Linked DNA regions of Homo sapiens: region 1 is linked to region 2. The links are contacts of gene promoters, found by promoter capture Hi-C in human tissues and cell types (Jung and others, 2019). All regions are on one chromosome and are shown on one strand. The core of a region is centred on a gene start or on the middle of the fragment in contact, and the rest is flanking DNA. Distances in the headings are between cores, read along the strand shown.

Region 1 (6,347 bases), core at 3,708-6,207, 50 kb after region 2:
TTCTGTCTCAAAAAAACAAAAAACAGTAACACTTCCCATAGTAATTACTCAATAAATATTAGCCAGTATAATTATAAGCTAGACACTGTGCTACTATGGAGAATACAAAGATAAACAAGACACAATATCTTTTTTTTTTTTTTTTTTTTTTGAGACAAGGTTTTGCTCTGTTGCCTAGGCTACAGGGCAGTGATGCAATCATAGCTCACTGCAGCCTCGACCTCCCAGGTTCAGGTGACCCTCCCACCTCAGCCTCACAAGTAGCTGGGACTACTGGCGTGTGCCACCACACCCAACTCATTTTTGTATTTTTTGTAGAGATGGAGTATTGCCATGTTGCCCAGGCCAGTCTTGAACTCCCGGGCTCAAGCAGTCCACCTGCCTTGGCCTCGCAGAGTGCTGGGATGACAGGCATGAGCCACTGCGCTGGCCACAGTTTCTATCTTCTTTGAACACAAACATGAGAACACTGAAGCTTAGGGTGAAATGACAAGGCTGGGATTGAAATTGAGACTTTTTTCCCCACAGAAATTTAGTAGTCTTTATGATGCCAAATTAATTAGTATAGACTAATAAGCATATAGCTTAATTAGGGACTAATCGATTAAAATTTAAAGTGAGTGAAAAAAAGGTTTGACTTAAACAAAAGCAAAATACTGTATATCAGTTAATACCAGTATTATTCATTCATTCAATGTACATTTAGTGAGGACTTGTTATGCATTATTCATGATGGTAGACACCATAGAAGGGATACTAAGATAAGTCAGGTGTATATTCTACTTCAAGTAGATCTCCCAGTAAGGAATATAAAACATTTGTATGTGGAATGTAGTAAAGACTCCAGGCTAACTACTGTGAAGTTTGATACTAACAATTATAACTTGGTAAATCAGGGAAAGATTTCTGGAGGAGATGCCTTTTGAACTATGCCTGAAAGGATAGGTCGGATTTGGACAAGTGCTGATGGGTGGAAAGGGCATTTCAGGAAGAGAAATTCCCTTTCTATGCAAAAGCATAGAAATGGAGAAGCGGGCTGGGTGCAGTGGCTCATGCCTGTAATCCCAGCACTTTGGGAGACCGAGGAGGGCAGAGCACTTGAGCCCAGGAGTTCAAGACCATCCTGGGCAACATGGTGAAACCACATCTCTACAAAAAATAAAAAAATTAGATGGGTGTGGTGGTGCACGCCTGTAGTCCCAGTTACTGGGGAGGCTGAGGTGGGAAGATCACTTGAGCCCAGGAGGCAGAGATTGCAGTGAGCAGAGATCATGCAACTGCCCTTCAGCCTGGGCCACAAAGCACGACTCTCTCAAAAAAAGAAAGAAAGAAAGAAAAAGAAATGGAGAATCAGAACACGTGTTAAAGGAACAGCAAATAGTTCAGTTTTGATAGTGTATAGGGTATGTGAGTAGCAGTGACAAATATAAACAAAGACTGGCTGAGACTCAACAGTGTTAAAGTCATTTCAAATATGTTTTTCAGGATTCTGTCCGCGTGGTCTTGGGAAACTTGGACAATCTTCAGCCCTTTGCTACAGAACACTTCATTGTATTTCCCTGTATCCTTTTTTTTTTTTTTTTTTTGAGATGGAGTCTTGCTCTGTCACCCAGGCTGGAGTGCAATGGCATGATCTTGGCTCACTGCAACCTCAGCCTCCCAGGTTCAAGCGATTCTCTTGCCTCAGCCTCTCCAGTAGCTGGGATTACAGGCACATGCCACCACACCCGGCTAATTTTGGTATTTTTAGTAGAGGCGCTATTTCACCATGTTGGCCAGGCTGGTCTTGAACTCCTGACCTCAGGTGATCCACCCGCCTCGGCCTCCCAAAGTGCTGGGATTACAGCCATGAGCCACTGCGCCCAGCCTATCCTTTCTTTTCTGGCTGGAAATGAGCTACAGCTCACATTTTAGACTCAAATGGACGTAGCAAAACCATAGGCAGTTTGGAGGGTAGGTCAGGGGAAGGAGAGAGAGTCTCATCCCTAAAATAGTACTTAGGAATGCATACTGGCATCTTTCCTTACTCCTTAGCACCATTTTCCAGATAAAAGCAAATGGGAGAGAGTTTCCCACCTGAAATTCAAACATGGGGAAATTATCTTGATCCCCTACCCATTTGTTTTTACTCTATATGTGGAGATGAAATGGTTCCATGAAAACCTGTCACCTGGTAAGTGGAATGATGTGAATGTGGATGGCAGAGAAGAAAATGGTTTAGCTGTGCCAGCTAGGTATCGCGAAAGGGGCTACCAGATTAGGCTCCAGCCATACAGTGCACAGGTCAGGATCATGTGCTCCAGGCCAGACTGACCGGTTCAAATACTGGTGGTCCTGCCACTTAATGGCTGTGTGAAGTTAGATAAATTAATCTTTCTATGCCTCCCTTGTGAAATGGTGAAGAATAATATTACTACCTATATCATTGAGTTGTTAAAAGGATTAAATAGTAGTAGATGAAAAGTACAAAGCCTGACTTAATCACTGAATGAAAGATAACTATTATATAAACCCTTCCATTAGAGAGAATTCTATGATTTTCACTTTAGAGCTATCTTAAAGGTATCTCCCAATTTTATTTTTATTTAGACAGGGTCTCACTCTGTCACCCAGGCTGGAGTACAGTGGTGTGATCATAGTTCACTGTAACCTCTAACTCCTGGGCTCAAGTGATCCTCCTGCCTCAGCTTCCCAAGTAGCTAGGACTATAGGTGTGTGCGACCATCCCCGGCTAATTTTTTTTTTTTTTTTTTTAGTAGAGACAGGGGTCTGACTATATTGCACCGTTGGGTCTCAAACTCCTGGGCTCAAGCGATCCTCCCACCTCGGCCTCCCAAAACACTGGGATTACAGGCATGAGCCACTGTGCCTAGCCCAAATTTTTATTCTCTGAAGGCCATGGGTGTTTTTGTTGATTGAGGGACAAGTAAACACCTACCCTTTTGATTTGAAAAGGGGTGCAGGCTGGGCATGGTGGCTTATGCCTGTAATCCCAGTACTTTGGGAGGCCGAGGCAAGAGGATCACTTGAGGCCAGGAGTTCAAGACCAGCCTGACCAACGTGGTGAAACCCCATTTCTACTAAAAATAAATTTAGCCAGGCGTGGTGGTGTGCGCCTCTAATCCCAGCTACTCAGGAAGCTGAAACAGAAGAATCGCTTGAACCCGGGAGGCAGAGATTGCAGTGAGCTGAGATCACGCCCCTGCACTCCAGCCTGGGCGGCAGAGCAAGATGCCATCTGAAAAAAAAAAAAAAAAAAAAAAAAAAAAAAAAAAATATATATATATATATATATATATATATATATATATATGATGTAGCCCGACATGGTGGTGGTGCATGCCTGTAGTCCCAGCTACTCTGGAGGCTGAGGGAGGAGAATTGCTTGAACCTGGGAGGCAGAGGTTCTGGTGAGCCAAGATCACACCACTGCACTTCTGCCTGGGCAACAGAGCTAGCTCTGTCTCAAAAAAGAAAGAAAAGAAAAGGGGTGCAAAGGCCTTGCCTCAAAATATCTCCCCTTTTCATTTGTCACAGGTAGCTGAAGTTCTACCTTTTTTCTTTTTTAGTAAGGATCGTCCCCTCCCTTTTCAAACCCTTTCTAGCTTGTAGATTACAATCATTCTGAAACAGGGGAGGAAGAGAGTTTGAAGACACTATTTTTAGGGAAAATAGTACCAGGTAGAAGGGAGAAGGGCACATGAGGAGTCTTTGTCTGGGGTCAGTTCCAAGAAATAAATAGTAGCCAGAAGTCCAGGTAAAACAGCATCGTGGCTAGGCCTGGTGGCTCACTTTGGGAGGCCAAGGCAGGTGGATCACCTGAGGTCAGGAGTTTGAGACCAACCTGGCCAACGTGGTGAAACCCCTCTCTCTACTAAAAATACAAAAATTAGCCAGGTGTGGTGGCATGTGCCTGTAGTCCCAGCTACTCGGGAGGCTGAGGGAGGAGAATCGCTTGAACTCAAGAGGCGGAGGTTGCAGTGAGCCGAGATCGCACCACTGCACTCCAGTCTGGGTGACAGAGAGAGACTTAATCTCCAAAAAAAAAAAAAAAAAAGTCTTAAATCTATTATGACACTCAAATTTCCTATTGTAGGGAAACCAATAAGTGACAGTCCTCTTGGGTTGGTAAGTTTGCCTTTTCTGTACAAAATGAAAATTGCCTTTATCACCTTCTTTTTTCCAAAAAGTCCTGCTCTTGCCTCTTCCCCTTACTTTGCCCTCAGTTGCTGCCCAGGTCCAGTCAGAATTGTAAACATAAGACCATATTTTCCCCCTTGGCTAGATTTCTGAGACCATGTCTCTAACAGAATGTCTATTCTTACTTGCAAAGCTGGTGTTAAAAGTTGCCTTTGGCAGTTTAAGGATGGGGAGTTTTCTTCACTGTGCCTTCATGAACTGTGAGCAACTCTGGAAAGGAGGAGTCACAGGCATCTGCTTCCTCCTGAAGGTCCCAGTTGAGAAGAAAGCAGTAGGAGCTGTGATGAGGAAACGAAAACACATGGACGAGCCCAGCTCCCCCAGCAGGCCAGGGCTGGACAGGTCAGTGGTGTGGGGAGAGAGGCTCGCTCCTGCGTCCTAGTTAGGCTTTGCCAGCTATTACTGTTGGTTGATCCTGTCCTTGGGCGAGTCACTTTCTTTTGCAGGACTTCATCAGTATCTGCCTATTACAGTGGGTGGACTAAGGAAAGGGAGCAAGTTAATATTTACAATATAATTTGAACACAGTCCCTTTTTCAGCAAAGTACGATTTTTCTTTTCAAGATGAAGGCTAAGAAGAAATACAGTCCGATCTAAACAATTGAATTCAGCACATTCAATAATACTTACTATGTTAATATCACCAGAAGGCACAGGACTTATGAAGTCTCAGAATATTTACAAAAACATAGGGAAACTCTTGAAGGAGTAAGAACAAATAAAATATAATTCTATTTTACCCAGTGAGCAGTTAGCTTTTGGAACCTTAAGAGGCAGTCCAGACTAAAATATAAATGTTTGCAAGAGGGTATGTATCAATCATTGGGTGGGGTGCTGTGATATTAGGGGGAATGTTGAGTACATCCCTAACATATTTTTATTGTGGAGGCTACTTATGTTCTTCTTTCAATTCTCTATCAGGAACAAAATGAGTCAGTAAGACAATTCAGTCATTCTTATTAGCACCCTAGAAAGCTAATAAGAATGCTGCTGGAATAATCCAAGGTGTGGTTTGTTCCCTAGCCCAAGATGCTTCCACCCTAGGCCCACAGAGAACAGCTACCCTTTTCCTGGGACTCTGTGGACCCCTAGACATACAGGAGAAATAAGGTAGACCACTAGGAAGCTGACCCCATGCTCTCCAGATGCACATGTAGGTGAAGAGGTAGGGAGCTCCTTTCCAAGCCAGGTGGAATGTGAGGGTACTTGGAGGTATGAAGCTTTGCTTTGTTCCATTCGACTGAATTTTCCATGCAAATGAGGTCTCAGATCTTCCCTTTCTCTGGGTTTTGATGCACAGTCAAGTATTTCAAAATCTGATACCTGCTGTCAATCACATTTTCACTTTCTCAAACCCCAGATCCCTAAGTGTCTCAAACTGGGATTCTGCTGTGAAGTAAAGCAGCACCCAAAGAAAATTTGGCCACCCAATTTATTCTGCCAGCCAGGAGTAGTATAACAATAGCCAACCTGCTGAAATATTCATTTGGGCCACATTTGCTTGAATGTAGTGATATTGCCTCTGCCAGTAACATTTCCTGCATATTTTCCCCCCACCTCAGGGCCAAGATAGGGACTTCCAGCCAAGGCCCCAGCAAAAAGAAGCCCCCTGTGGAAACCAGGAGAGTAAGTACTAAAATGGAGCCTTAGTACTAAAATGGAGCCTTCAAGGCTATTAGCTATTCCTGTTCTGTTACAAGTCAGGATTCCGGTTACCAGCACATCTTGGTTTTTCGTGCAGATTGAATTGACTGAACTCATTCTTGGGTTTCACTGTCTGCAGAATAACATTCAACTATTATGCCCTTGCCACAACGCATCCCAAAGTGGCTGCATAATACACGCATCGATGAATTTTTTTGTTAAAAAGTCCTCTCTTTGCCTGGTACGGTGGCTCATGCCTGTAATCCCAGCATTTTGGGAGGCTGAGGCAGGCGGATCACCTGAAGTCAGGAGTTCAAGACCAGGCTGGCCAACCTGGTGAGACCCAGTCTCTACTAAAAATACAAAAAATTAGCCAAGTGTGGTGGTGGGCACCTGTAATCCCAGCTACTCGGGAGGCTGAGGCAGGAGAATCACTTGAACCCAGGAGGCGGAGGTTGCAGTGAGCTGAGTTCGTGCCACTGCACTCCAGCCTGGGCAACAGA
Region 2 (5,968 bases), core at 217-2,716:
AGACTTGTTTTATGCCTGGTTCTAGGGATAGCAGGGGACTGCACTCTCCACACCTCTGCCCATAACAGGCATCACTAATCGATCATGGTGTGGCAGACATTGCTAATCAACTGCAGTACTCTTTTTTACTAAGCTCAGAGGTGTCCATGAACTCTTTAAAACAACATTCCAGCCACCATCACCTATCAGAAGATCATATCTGTATTTGCCATTCTTGTGATACCACATCATCAGCCATGAGCCCTCAGGTCTCAGGTACAACTCCAAGATGCTCTAGTCACCAGACCATAGGACTCTACATACTGCATGCATGCTGTTCTTGGACAGGAATTACTGGCCCCTCTGGCCCCCAAACAGATGCCCCATCCAAGTGTCCCTCTTAGAGATACAACAAGCATGCAGGTATGCCCGGGGCTTCAGGGTTTGCTAGGTCTTTATTTTTTAATTTTTAATTAATTAATTTTTTTGAAACAAGGTCTTGCTCTATTGCCCAGGCTGGAGTGCAGTGGCAAGATTATAGCTCACTGCAGCCTTGAACTCCTGGGCTCAAGTGATCCTCTCATCTCAGCCTCCTGAGTAACTGGGAATACAGGTGTGTGCCACCATGCCCAGTTATTTTTTTTATTTTTAATATAGATAAGGTCTTGCTATGTTGCCCAGGCTGGTCTCAAACTCCTGAGCTCAAGTAATCCTCCTGCCTTGGCCTCCCAGAGTACTTGGATTACAGGCATGAACCACTGCATCTGGCCTAACAAAATTGTTTTTATCCCCACTTTACAGATTTGGAAACAGAAACACAGATGAAATTACGAACCCAAGTCACATAGCTTGGAAGCTGGGCTCCTAACCACTGGACATCAATCTTTCCACTGCTTCATGGTCTGTTGTATGAAAACAGTAATGTATCCATCTGTTCTATCCAACAGCCATTGCTTAATTTTGCAGACATGCTTCCATAGTGGTCTCAGAAGGTTTGGGGGTGGTTGTATTATCTGGCTTAGTTCCTGCAATGAGCCTGGGAGTGGGTAGTTGTACCATCCTCCAGATGAGAAAACTAGGGCTCAGAGAAGGAGAGTCACTTTCTGAAAGTTGGACAGCTCCAATGTGTGCTGTGATCCAGAGTTCCCCCAATTCCAGAGCTCAAGGGCTCTCTCTACCCCACATGAGCATCGGTCCCCACTGGCTTCTTCTCTCATCTCAGTCCCTGGCCGCCTGTCCTCCCTCCCCTAGAACACCCTCCTCATACCTGGCCTTTGGTCTTCCCTCCTCTCCACCCTCCACCATCCTCTTTCCAGAGAAGGGGCCCAACCGGAAGGCCAGTTCATGTTAGGAAATTCTAGCCACGTGAGCAAGCCTGAGCCAGGGATTCTGAGCAGCTGGTGGCTTTAGGAGAAACTGAAACTTGGCCCTCTGGGGGCGGAGTGGCCACTGGGGATTTAAAGAGCTGCCACTTCCTTAGGCCTCCAGAGGGCACTGGGAAGTCACAGCTGCTGAGGGACCACTCTGCTCCCCCGCCTAAGCCATGCACCTCTGTGGGGGCAATGGGCTGCTGACCCAGACAGTGAGTACAGGGGATTGGGGATCGGGGATGAGAAGGGGAGCTGGGATCCCGTCCTCAGTGCCCAGGCAGTGAGGGCTGCAGTCGGGAGCTCCTAGTCCCAGCTCTATACTCTGAGCAGTGTGACAGAGGGCTCTGCATGCCCCTCTCTGGGTCTCACTTTCCTCCCCCGAAGTCGGGATTGGATTGGAATGAGTTGTTTCCAGCTCTCACATTGCAGATCCAGCCTTCGGTTTAGAACTTGGCCTCTGTGTACTTGCTCTCTCCTAACGTACCTGGTCCCCCCTCACTACACTCACAGCAGCCTTTCCTTCCTTCTCCAAATAACCCAGGCCGGCTCATGCCTGTAATCCCAGCCCCTTGGGAGTCTGAGGCCGGCAGATAACATGAGGTTAGGAGTTCAAGATCAGCCTGGCCAACATGGCGAAACCCCGTCTCTACTAGAAATACAAAAATTAGCCAGGTGTGGCAGGGCACGTCTGTAGTCTCAGCTACTCGAGAGGCTGAGGCAGGAAAGTTGCTTGAACCCGGGAGATGGAGGTTGCAGTAAGCTGAGCTCATGTCACTGCACTCCAGCCTGGGTGACAGAGAGAGACTCTGTCTCAATAAAATAAAATAGGCCGGGCTCAGTGGCTCACACCTGTAATCCCAGCACTTTGGGAGGCTGAGGCGGGCAGATCACCTGAGGTCAGGAGATCGAGACCATCCTGGCCAACATGGTGAAACCCCGTCTCTATTAAAAATAGAAAAATTAGCTGGGCGTGGTGGAGGCACATGCCTGTAATCCCAGCTTCTCAGGAGGCTGAGGCAGGAGAATCACTTGAACCTGGGAGGCGGAGGTCGCAGTGAGCCAAGATCACGCCACTGCACTCCAGCCTGGGCGACAGAGACTCTGTCTCAATAAAATAAAATAAAATAAAATAAAGTAAAATAATAAATAAATTCCCTGGGCCATGGTTTCCCTTGGAGGCTCTGCTTATCTCACAGGAGCCCCCTTCACTCACCGTGGGTCCTGTCTCAGCCTTTAGTTTCTTGGTGCCCCAGTGTCTACAGTGAGCCCGCTGTGGACATGGCCCAAGGGAGCATATGGAGCAGGAGCCTAGGAGCATTCAGAATCTGCAGCCAGGGCGGCCAGGGCCTTGCCTGAGGTCCTTACCCTCAAAACACATACCCCAGAGAGACTTGGGGGCGGGGGCTGGGCTGTGAGCTCTCCAACAGTCCCTCTTGCTCTGACTTTGCAGAGCTCTGGACATTTGGGTAAAATATTTTATCTAAGTTTCATTGATCCCAGGGTACAAGGTGGTCACAACCTTTGAGTCCACTCTTCCACCGGAATAAACCCTTCATTCATTCATCCTTCGCTACCACCCCACTACAATGTGAGCAATTTCAGGGCAGGGATTTGTGTGTATTTTGTTTGCTATCATGTCCCTCTAGCTTACTGCCTGGAACATAGTAGGTGCTTATACATGTTTGTTGAGTAAGTGAATATCTGCTTTGGGCTTGAGCTGGGCATGAGCACAGAGAACCACATCTGCCCTCATGGAGCTCACAGTTAGGAAAGTTCACACCTTGGTGTGGAAATCATGGCAATGAGAAGAATGGAAGCTGAGCTTTATGGCACGCCGGCTCTGGGCTGCCTGCCGCATGGGCTTTAACCCTCTGCTGTGGTGCTTCCATTGCAGGGATGGGGCGATTGGGTTCAAGAATATGGGGCTCGGCTGGGCACGGTGGCTCACACCTGTAATCCCAGCACTTTGGGAGGCCGAGGCTGGTGAATCACCTGAGGTCAGGAGTTCAAGACCAGTTTGAGATGAGCCTGGCCAACATGAGGAAACCCCATCTCTACTAAAAATACAAAAATTGGCCAGGAATGGTGGCAGGTGCCTGTAGTCCCAGCTACTTGGGAGGCCGAGGCAGGAGAATTGCTTGAACCCGGGAGTCAGAGTTTGCAGTGAGCCAAGATAGAGCCGCTGCACTACTCCAGCCTGGGCAACAGAGTGAGACTCTGTCTCAAAAAAAAAGGAAAAAAGAATGTGGGGTTTGAAGTTGGCTCTGTCTGAGTTTGAATCTCAGGCTTCCCATCTTCCCTGCTTGCCCTCCCACCCTCCACATGAGCGGTGAGCAGGACACAGGGGTGAGGCTGGCGTTCCAACAAGGTGTGCAGTGCCTGCTATAGGGGGTGTGGGTGCCAAGGGAGCTTCTGGGAGATAAAAGACCCTTGGGAACTTGACTCAAGGGGAAAGACTTGGCTTTACAAATGGCGGGCCAGGACGGAGGGCACAAGGCCTGGCTGGGCCCCCTGAGTCCTCTGCCTCATGCCCCACAGGACCCCAAGGAGCAACAAAGGCAGCTGAAGAAGCAGAAGAACCGGGCAGCCGCCCAGCGAAGCCGGCAGAAGCACACAGACAAGGCAGACGCCCTGCACCAGGTGTGGACAACCCCTAACCCCTTTCCTTGTCTCTGGCTCCACTTACTGGCCCAGCCACCTCTTCTCCATCCCACCTTTGAGCAGACCTCCCCCAAACTCCTGTATTTTTCTAGGTCACCTGAGTTTGGGATGAGAAAAGGATCCTGTGGCTGACATTTGGAAAGTTCTGGGTGTTGAGTACAAACCATGTGCCAGGTACACACCAGGCTCCAGGGACACAAAGGGTCATCCTCAGCCCAGCCGTGTCCTAAGGTGTCCGCAGTCTAGGGGAAGGAAGACAGGAAGTGGAGGCAAATAGGGAGACCCCAACACAATGGCCAGCTGAGACACTGGTTAAAATGCAGATTCCAGGCTGGGCACTGTGGCTCACACCTGTAATCCTAGCACTTTGGGAGGCTGAGGCTGGAGGATTGTTTGAGCCCAGGAGTTCAAGACCAGCCTGGGCAATATAGTGAGACTCTGTCTCTACAAAAATTAAAAAATAGTTAGCTGGGCGTGATGGTGCACACCTGTAGTCCCAGCTACTCAGGAAACTGAGGCAGGAGGATCGCTTGAGCCCAGAAGTTCAAGGCTGCAGTGAGCCATGATTGTACCACTGCATCCAACCTGGGCAACAGATTGAGACCCTGTCTATAGAAAAAAAAAAGTGGATTATTCTTCCTCTGCCAGGTCCCACCTCATGAGGCCAGGTGGGCCCAGGGACCTGCACGGTGATTTGTGATTAATCACCTGGGGGTCAGAATTCAGGAGGTGACCAAGACCATACTGTGAGAACTCTGGTTCAGGGTTAAAATGGGCAGGGTTTCCAGTCCCAGTTGCAAGTTGCTTCCTTTACTGAGCTTCATGCTCATCTGAAAATACCATAAACAGTGGCTTAAACAATAGACATTTATTTCTCACAGTTTTGGAGGCTGGGAAGTCCAAGATCAAGGTGCCAGCCAATTCAGTTCCAGATGAGGGTGCTCTTCCTGACTTGTAAGTGGCTGCCTTCTCGCTGTGTGCTCATGGCCTCTCAGTGCATGTGAGAGGACAGAGTGATCTCTTTCCCTTCCTCTCCTTTTTGGGATTTTTGTTGTTGTTGTCATTTTTGAGACAGAGTCTCACTCTGTTGCCCAGACTGGAGTGCAGTGGCGCCACTTGGCTCACTACAACCTCTACCTCCTGGGTTCAAGTGATCCTCCTGCCTCAGCCTCCTGAGTAGCTAGGATTACAGGCATGCGCCACTACGCCCACCTAATTTTTGTATTTTTAGCAGAGACGGGGTTTCACCATGTTGGCCAGGCTGGTCTCAAACTCCTGGCTTTAAGTGATCTGCCCGCCTCAGCCTCCCAAAGTGCTGGGATTACAGGCGTGAACCACTGCACCTGGCCCCCTCCTTTTGTTTTAATTTTTTATTCATTTATTATTTATTTATTCTTTCTTTTTTATTTCTTCATATTCTTTATTTTTTAATAGTGATGGGGGTCTTGCTATGTTGCCCAGGCTTGTCTTGAACTCCTGGGCTCAAGCAATCCTCCCACCTCCACGTCCCAAAGTGCTGGGATTACAGGCGTGAGCCACCATGCCTGGCCTCTTCCTTTTTTTTTTTTGAGAGGGTCTTACTCTGTTGTCCAGGCTAGAGTGCAGTCCACGATCCTGGCTCACTGCAACCTCAGCTTCCCAGGCTCAAGCGATCCTCTCCACCTCAGTCTCCCGAGTAGCTGAGACTACAGGCATGCACCATCACACTTGGCTAACTTTTGTATTTTTTGTAGAGACAGAGTTTCTCCATGTAGCCCAGGCTGGTCTTGAACTCCTGGACTCAATTGATCCACCTACCTCGGCCTCCCAAAGTGCTGGGATTACAGGCTTGAGCCACCGCTCCCAGCCTCCTTCCCTCTTCTTATAAGGCCACCAATCCTATCAGATTAGAACCCGATCCTCTATCCTAGGACCTCATTTAATCTAAATTACCTTCTAAGAGCCTTATCTCTAAATGC

What was found. Contacts are between HindIII fragments. The study calls those that stand out against the background at their distance.
Region 1: a fragment that was not itself captured here is called in contact with the fragment with the promoter of BATF2 in region 2 in 1 of the 25 tissues and cell types used here (lymphoblastoid cells).

What each region holds. Positions count from the first base shown.
Region 1 is chr11:64,945,569-64,951,915 of GRCh38, reverse strand. It overlaps MAJIN (membrane anchored junction protein), which reads left to right. Exons shown (of 11, transcript NM_001037225.3): 5 at 1,486-1,561; 6 at 2,048-2,173; 7 at 4,097-4,128; 8 at 4,451-4,542. Among named protein-coding and RNA genes, the nearest start is that of GPHA2, 13 kb to the right of the region's middle. The HindIII fragment of the contact is 4,017 bases long and covers 2,949-6,347 here.
Region 2 is chr11:64,992,469-64,998,436 of GRCh38, reverse strand. BATF2 (basic leucine zipper ATF-like transcription factor 2) reads left to right here and starts at 1,466. Exons shown (of 3, transcript NM_138456.4): 1 at 1,466-1,561; 2 at 3,888-3,989. The coding sequence starts at 1,523. RefSeq lists a cis regulatory region at 1-322 and an enhancer at 1,567-2,067. The HindIII fragment of the contact is 29,477 bases long and covers 1-5,968 here.